2 separate regions of the Homo sapiens genome follow, and region 2 is linked to region 1. Evidence: promoter capture Hi-C in human tissues and cell types (Jung and others, 2019). All regions are on one chromosome and are shown on one strand. The core of a region is centred on a gene start or on the middle of the fragment in contact, and the rest is flanking DNA. Distances in the headings are between cores, read along the strand shown. Region 1 holds the start of UPK3B (uroplakin 3B). Region 2 overlaps LOC124901681 (a long non-coding RNA gene).

Region 1 (4,581 bases), core at 548-3,047:
CTGGACACACTGCCTGCTTCCCCATCCCGGCTCCACCCCGATGTTGGCAGGCCACTTGACCTCCTGTGCCTCAGTTTCCTCATCTGTAAGAGCGGGTAGGAGCCACCTCTCCTGCTCCCTGCCTAATACCGACGAGACTGGGTCTGAACTCGGCCCCCGAGTTTCCTGCCAGATCTGCCCGTGGTGGGGGACAGGGGCCTAGACTTTGGGGAAGCTGCCCCCTCCCACCTTGACTAAGATCCCGCCTCCCCAAGGTGCCCACCTGCTCCTCCTGGGCCTTGCCCGGCCCCAGCGGGGGTGAGCACTGTTGCTGACTCTACAGTGGAAGGAGCCCGGGCTTGCAAAGGGGAGGACCGGGGCCGGGGACCCCTCCCTGGAAAGATGCTAGAGAGAGCATCCCTGGTCCCAGCAATGCGTCCGCCCCAAGCACAGCCCCAGTCCCAGGGCTCCGGTGGGGACCACCCACCGATAGGGTCCAGGGCCAGGGAGGGGCGCGTTGCAGAAGGGCTGCTGGTGGCAGCCGTGGTCATGGCCCACCCGCAGCACGGGGGCGCCTCCGCTGCCCGCCATGGGGTCGCCACAGGGCAGCTGGTCCGGAGACAGGGGCAGCGTCATGTAGTGGCCATCGGTCAGCAGCTGTGGGGAGGCCGGAATGTCAGCCAGTGTCTCCGGGTTCTGGAAGCCCCTGGAGGCTGCAGGAGGAGAGAACAGATGGAGGTGGGAGGGGAGAAAGCAGCTTTGTCCTTATGAGTGGGGGTTCTGTGTTCGCCCAGTCTCCAGCCCTGACCCCCCATGCCACCTCCTCCCTCAGGGCCCCCAGAGATAGTCCAGACCCAGTCGACTTTGTTACCCCTGAAGGGGAGCTTCCCTCTGGCCTTTTGTCCCCACCCAGAGCCAGGAGTGGGGAGCAGCGGGCAGTCCCAACCTGCCCAGCCCCAGCCCCAGCCCCATTGCAGTGCACCGGCCCTGCCCCACAGGAGGCCACATCCTCCCAGGTCGCAGCCTCGGTTCCCTGTCCAAAGGAAGAACTACTTGGATTCAGAGAAAGGGTTGCAGAGCCCTTGACAGCTGACAAACCCACCACTAGCACTACTCCCGGGATTTGGTGTTCACTACGTGTGTATTTTTCAATACACATATTACCCCTTTAGATAAAGCCCAATTCATCCACACCTACTCTCCCAAAGGCCCCCACAGGGGCTCAATCATTGAAGGCGCTTGCTGGTGAGGGGCTCCTAGGGCCCACCACTCTCCTCAGCCGTCACCCTCACCCAGGCCCCACAGCAGTCCCCGTACCATTGCTGAAGGCCACCACGAGCCAGACGGTATCGCTGGCGCTGGCAAGCCCATCGAAGACACAGCGCGGCTGCTCCAGGGAGAAGGTGGTGGCTGTGACCTTCCCTTCCAGGTCCCAAGCTGTTATCTGTGGTGTGTAGGGCACCAGCTCTGTGGCCACGGGGGACAAAAGGTGAGCCACGGAGACGGGCGTGGGGGTCCCTGGGGCTGCCTCTCCCAATCGGAGGGGGGCGGGCGCCCAGGGTCCAATCACTCCAGCAGGGCCCCCAGCCCCTTGGGTCTGGCTGGACGCGTCCATCCAGGACCCCCACTCACCCAGGCTCAGGCTGGGCCGGAGACAGTTCAACGCCAGGAGGAGCATCTGCAGCCCTAGGTGAGGCTGCCCCCAGGGTAGCCCCATGACAGCTGCCAGCACCCGGGAGGCTCAGGGGCTGGTCTGGCTGCTTCGGGCTGCACCTCACCCCCAACAGCTTGGCCCTGGAGAAGCTGGTTAATCAGGCTGCCCCAGGGGCTGGAAAGACCTGCAAATGTAAGTGCACCCCACCCCCTTCCTCCCAGGCCAGCCCACAGCAGGGAGGAGCTGGGGGGACTCTGGTGGGAGGCAGGCCAGTATCCAGCCCCACTGCCAGGGCCAAGGGAGAGGGGCCACTGGAACCCCAGATGCCAGCCAGGCCATCCCGGAGCCTGGATTGGGGCCCCTCCCAGTCTCTCCGCCCTGGGGAGGAGGGTCTGGCTTTTGGAAACAGGCTCAGGACCACATGCCTGAGATTCCTGTGCCCCAGGTGCCAGGAGCCTCCCTCTGCCTTCTGTCCCCACCCAGAGTCAGGAGTGGGGAGTAGCAGGCAGCCCCAACCTGCCCAGCCCCATCCCCATCACAGCACGCTGGCCCTGCCCCCCACGAGGCCACATCCTCCCAGTTCGCAGCCTGGGTTCCCTGTCCACAGGAAGAAGAACTTGGATTCAGAGAAAGGGCTGCAGAGCCCTTGACAGCTGACAAGCCCGCCACTTAAACACTACTCCCGGGATTTGGCGCTCACTATGTGTGTATTTTTCAAGACATAACTCACATACCTTCACAACCTTCACAGCTCAGTGGCTTAAATATATATATGTCACCCAGGGAGGTCAGTTCACAGCTAACTGGAGCCTCAAACTCCCAGGTTCAGTTAATCCTCCCACCTCAGCCTTCCCAGTAGCTGGAACCACAGGCACACAACACCATGCTCCGGCTAATTTTTAAAATTTATTTAATTAATTTTTTTTTAAGATGGAGTCTCCTTTGTTGTCCAGGCTGGAGTGCAGTGGCGTGATCTGGGCTCACTGCAACCTCCGCCTCCTGGGTTCAAGCGATTCTCCTGCCTCAGCCTCCCAAGTAGCTGGGATTACAGGCATGTGCCCCACGGCCAGCTAATTTTTGTATTTTTAGTAGGGACGGGGTTTCACCATGTTGGCTTGGCTGGTCTCAAATTCCTGATCTCAAGTGATCCACCCGCCTTGGCCTCCCAAAGTGCTGGGATTACAGGCATGTGCCACCGTGCCTGGCACCCCCGCCAATTTTTTTTTTGTTTTTTTTGAAACGGAGTTTTCACTCTTGTTGCCCAGGCTGGAGTACAATGGCTCGATCTTGGCTCACCGCAACCTCCACCTCCTGGGTTCAAGTGATTCTCCTGCCTCAGCCTCCTGAGTAGCTGGGATTACAGGCATGTGCCACCACACCTGTCTAATTTTGTATTTTTAGTAGAGATAGGGTTTCTCCACGTTGGTGAGGCTGGTCTCGAACTCCTGACCTCAGGTGATCCACCCACCTCAGCCTCCCAAAGCGCTGGGATTGCAGGTGTGAGCCACTGCGCCCGGCTGGCCAATTTTTAAAAATGTATTTTTTATAGAAACAGGATCTTGCTATGTTGCCCAGGCTGATCTCTAACTCCTGGGAGGATCAAGCAAATCTCCTGCCTTGGCCTCCTAAAGTATTGGGATTACAGGCGTGAGCCACCGTGCCTGGCTATTTTTTTTTTTTTTTGAGACATGGAGTCTCACCCTGTCGCCCAGGCTGGAGTGCAATGGCGTGATCTCTGCTCACTGCAACCTCCACCTCCTGGGTTCAAGCAATTCTTCTGCCTCAGCCTCCCTAGTAGCTGGGACTACAGGCACCTACCACCATGCCCAGCTAATTTTTGTATTTTTAGTAGAGATGAGGTTTCACCAACTTGGCCAGGCTGGTCTCGAACGCCTGACCTCGCGATCTACCTGCCTTGGCCTCCCAAAGTGCTGGGATTACAGGCATGAGCCACTGCGCCCAGCTGCTAATTTTTAAAAATATAGTTTTTGAGGCTGGGTGTAGTGACTTACGGCGGTAATCCCAGCACTTTGGGAGGCCGAGGTGGGCAGGTCACTTGAGGTCATGAGTTCGAGACCAGCCTGGCGAACATGGTGAAACCCTGTCTCGACTAAAATTACAAAAATTAGCCGGGTGTGGTGGAACGTGCTTGTAATCCCAAGTACTCGGGAGGCTGAGGCAGGAGAATGACTTGAACCCGGGAGGCGGAGGTTGCAGTGAGCTGAGATCGCACCACCGCACTACAGCGTGGATGACAGAGTGAGACTCTGTCTCAAAAAAAATATAATAAAAATATATTTCTTGTAGAGACAGGGTCTCACTGTGTTGCCCAGCCTGGTCTTGAACTCCTGGCTCAAGGGATCCTCCTGCCTCAGCCTCCCAAAGTGCCCAGATTACAGGCATGAGCCACAGCGCCCAACAGCTTTTAGTATATCAACAAGGTTGTGCAACCATCACCAATTCCAGAACCTTCTTACTTCCCCAAAACGAAACACTACACCCATTAAACGGTAACTCTCCATTCTCCCGTCCCCAGTGACGACTAAGCTACTTCTTGTTTCCATGGTTTTGCCCGTAATGGACATTTCATAGGATGCAGTCACACAACATGTGACCTTTTGTGTCTGGCTTTTGTTACTTTTTCAAGGTTCCTCCTCGACTGTGATTGCTTCATTCCTTTTCACAGTTGAGTAATATTCCATCCTGTGAACGTATCACACTTTCATTCATCAGTGGATGCAGAATTTGTTTTTTTCCACTGTGGGGCTACTGTAAATAATGCTGCCATGAGCATCCGTGCGCAGGCTTCTGTGGGCACATTTTCAATTCTCTTGAGAATGTACCTAGGAGTGGAACTGTGGTCATATGCTAATGCTGCTTTCTGAGGTTCTGTTTGCCAAAGTGGCTGCATTTTACATTCCCAGTAGCAGTGGATGAGGGTCCCATTT
Region 2 (3,918 bases), core at 78-2,577, 1.0 Mb before region 1:
TTTATTGATTGAGGTCAGGCCAAACTATCAGCAAAACAAAACAAGCAAAAAATCCCTTTTCTTCAGTGACCACTAATAATTTTAGATTAAAAAAAATGTGCTTCCACTTATTTGAGGTATCTAAAGTAGTTAAACTCATAGAAACAAAATAGAATGGTGGTTACCAGGGGTTGGGGGCAGAAGGGAAAAGGGGAGTTTAATGGGCATAGATTTTCAGATTTGCAAGATAAAAACGTTCTGGAGATCTGTTTCACAACAATGTGAATCAATACAGGTATACTTAATACTAGTAAACTATACACTTAAAAATGGTTAAGATGGCAAATGTATGTGTTTTTCACCACAATATAAATAAATAAAATATATAGTTTGAGATGATAAAAAATGGTTAGTGGTGATGGTTGCACAACAATGTGAATGTACTTAATGTTACTGAGCTATACACTTAAAAATGGTTAAAATGATAAATTTTATGTTAGATATATTGTACTGCAGTTAAAAAAGTATATTTAAAGTTCCATGATTTTATATTTTTATCATATTCACTATTCTGTGAAAATCTTGCACTTCATGTTTCTGTGTTGGCAACTAGAAAGCAGAGATTTCTTTCAACTCTGTTATTTAGCCTATAGTCAAACAAATAATTGGTGTCGTTAGCAGCTATACAAGTCTAAACTAAAATCTATAGAGGGAAATTTCATTTCCAAGAATTGCTGTAATATTATGCAAAAATCTTCTAATGCCCATAGAATTCTAGAAGGCACCTAATGTGCATATTATATGTCATCATTTGATGGTTACCTTACCTTGTCAGTGAATATCACATTTCTTTTATTTATTTATTTATTTTGAGATGGAGTCTCACTCTGTCACCCAGGCTGGAGTGCAGTGGCATGATCTCGGCTCACTGCAAGCTCTGCCTCCCGGGTTCACGCCATTCTCCTGCCTCAGCCTCCCGAGTAGCTGGGACTACAGGCGCCTGCCGATTTTTTAGTTATATTCAAGTTCATTCAGTAGTTGAAACTTTGGTTTTTGTTTTGTTTTAAGACAGGGTCTCTCACTCTGTCACCCAGGTTGGAATGCAGTGACACAGTCATGGCTCACTGCAGCCTTGACCTCTGGGACTCAAGTGATCCACCCACCTCAGCCTCCCGAGTATCCAAGACCACAGGCACACGCCACCACACCCAGCTAATTTTTGTATTTTTTGTAGAGAGTTTCGCCACGTTGCCTAGGCTGGCTTCAAACTCCTGAGCTCAAGCAATCTGCCTGCCTTGGCCTCCCAAAGTGCTGAGATGACAGGCATGAGCCACTGCACCTGGCTCAGTAGTTGAAAATTTGTTAAAAGGTATTTACTGTTAATAGCTAGTTACGATTAGTCTTAGTTTTCAATTAGCAAGCATTTTATGGTTTTAAAATTGTTTTTAATTTCCATTTAATATGCTCTACCAGTTACTTTTTAAAAGTATACTTTTAAAATAGTTTATTTTAAACTTTAGGGCATATCCTTTTTTTTTTTTTTTTCAAAGAAATTAACTATGTAATTTATCAAGGCAATCATCAACTGCCCTTTCCTTGTCAATTTTTAAATAGTTCCATTATTTCAAAATTCTGGTGAAATATTTATTTATATCTTTCTTCAGTAGTAAGTTGTCTCCTAGAGATATTTCATTTCTTTTTCTAGCTGAATGTTTGGTATTTAATATTTCTTCAGTAGATTTCAATTTGCTATCTTTCTGTAGTTCTCACTGAGTGATCTTTCTGTTGTGTTACATGAATACTATTTTTAAGTATATTCATAATATTTCACAAATCCAGTATCATGTGTCATACAGATGAGTCTAGGCAGTGGTTTTATTTCTAATGAGCAATTTGTGAGACATACTATTAATCATGCAATACCTTTAACAGTTGAACTTTTTAATTGTGGGTTTGTGTGTGCGAGGGAGATATTTATGATTTCTACTAAAGCCCTCAAAGCTGCTCAGACAGCCCTTTTGTCCATTTTTGGTCAGCTCCCATGGCTTTATCACTCGCTTCAAGCCCTACACCCTGCTTCTTCATTCTTAGAAAAATGGAGTTATCAAGTTTTAACTCAGTTTCTCCTTTCCAAGTGAAATTGGGAAATCACAAATTTACCCCTATAACTTACTCATTTCTCTCCACTATTAGGATTCTGTTGACCCTCTCTACCCTTTTATGTCTCTTCCTACTCTTGCTGTACAAATATCTCCTCTCCTTTATTGTCAGTCTTTTCCCCTTCAGTGACTCTCCTTATCCTACAAAATGCTCAAGACTCCCACAAACTACTGCCCATCTCATGCAACCCACAACAGTCTGACTACTGGCACATATCTCCTAAAGGACTTCCTACTTGCCAAATCTCATGACCTCTTAGTGTACATCCTTCTTAACCCTTGTGCAGCATTTGACCCTTTTCAGTGAATACCATTCCTTCTTGAAATTCTCCCTTTCCTTAGTTTGTTTTAATTGAAGTGAAATTTATATAATATGTAATTAATCATTTTAAAGTTAACAATTCAGTGGCATTTAGTACATTCACAATATTGTGCAACTACCACATCTATCTAGTTCTAAGACATTTTCGTGTCCCCAAAAGAAAGCCCTATTCCCATTAAACAGTTACTCCCTACTCCTTCCTCCCCTAACATCCTGGCAATCACCAATCTGCATTCTGTCTATATGGATTTACCTATTCTGTATATTTCATATAAAAATGGAATCATATATAATAGTATGTGGCCTCTTGTGTCTGGCTTCTTTCACTTGCATAATGTTTTGTTTCAAATCTTAATATTTTCATATTTGCCTCAGATTTTCAGTAAGAAAACAGTATGGATAGAGTTGAGATGCCTATAGAGTCCTTCCTTTCTCTCCCCAGAAATAACCATTATCTTGTATTTAGAATTTTTATTGTTCCAGTGCATGTATAACTTTATGCTGAGTAGTATCTTGCCTTTAAAAAAATTCTGGTAAAATCACATAACAAAATTTACTATCTTAACCATTTTTAAGTGTTCATTAGTGTTAAATATATTTGCATTGTTGTGCAACAGATCTCCAGAAACTTTTCATCTTGCAAAACTGAATATGTATACTCATTAAACAATGTTCCTTGATTTCCCTGTCCTTCTAGCTCCCAGTAACTACCATTCTACTTTGTTTCTATGAATATAACTATTTTAGATACCTCATACAGGTGGGCTCACATTTATTTGTCTTTTTGTGACTGGCTAATTTCATTTAGTGTAATGTCTTGAAGGTTCATCCATGTTATAGCGTATGAAAGGATTTTCTGCCTTTTTAAAGCTGAATAATATTGCATTATAAGTATATACTACATTTTGTTTATTCTTTCATCCATTGATGGACTTTTGGGCAGTGTTCACTTTTGAGGAGTTGTGAATAGTGTTCCTATGATCATGGTTTTCTGTGGAGAACCAAACTGTTTTCTACAGAAGCTGCATTTTACATTCTCACCAGAAATTGTACAAGGGTTCTAATTTATTCTCATCCTTGCCAACACTTGTTATTTTCCTTTAAAAAATTTTTGGCCATCCTACTGGGTACGAAGTGGTACCTCATTATGGTTTTGATATGCATTTTCCTAATGATTAATGATGTTGAGCATCTTTTGATGTGCTTCTTGGCTATTTGTATATCTTTGGAGGAATGTCTACTCAGCCCTTTGCCTATTTCTCTCTTTCTTTCCTCCTGTAACACTTTATACATTTAACACAATATTTTAGTCCTTACATTGCCTTATACTGGTTTGTTTATATATCTAGGTTATGAGCTCCTTAATGTAGAGATCTATCCCTGTAGCTAATAAATCTCTCCCAAGTTCATAGTAAAAGTCTGGTACATAGTAATACTCAAAAAATACTAAATCTCAGA

Evidence for each region. The method cuts DNA at HindIII sites, captures the fragments that hold promoters and counts their contacts. A contact is called where the count stands out against the background at its distance.
Region 2: a fragment that was not itself captured here is called in contact with the fragment with the promoter of UPK3B in region 1 in 1 of the 25 tissues and cell types used here (lymphoblastoid cells).

The regions. Positions count from the first base shown.
Region 1 is chr7:76,507,768-76,512,348 of GRCh38, reverse strand. UPK3B (uroplakin 3B) reads right to left here and starts at 1,797. Exons shown (of 6, transcript NM_001347684.2): 1 at 1,612-1,797; 2 at 1,297-1,446; 3 at 467-692. The coding sequence starts at 1,696. It overlaps LOC124901675 (a long non-coding RNA gene), which reads left to right and starts at 1,616. Exons shown (of 2, transcript XR_007060388.1): 1 at 1,616-1,825; 2 at 2,241-4,168. RefSeq lists enhancers at 1-433, 1,187-1,759, 1,760-2,332 and a silencer at 3,210-3,415. The HindIII fragment of the contact is 20,174 bases long and covers 1-4,581 here.
Region 2 is chr7:77,523,361-77,527,278 of GRCh38, reverse strand. All of the region lies in intron 2 of LOC124901681 (a long non-coding RNA gene), which reads left to right. Among named protein-coding and RNA genes, the nearest start is that of PTPN12, 12 kb to the left of the region's middle. RefSeq lists enhancers at 704-1,203, 1,204-1,705. The HindIII fragment of the contact is 9,064 bases long and covers 1-3,918 here.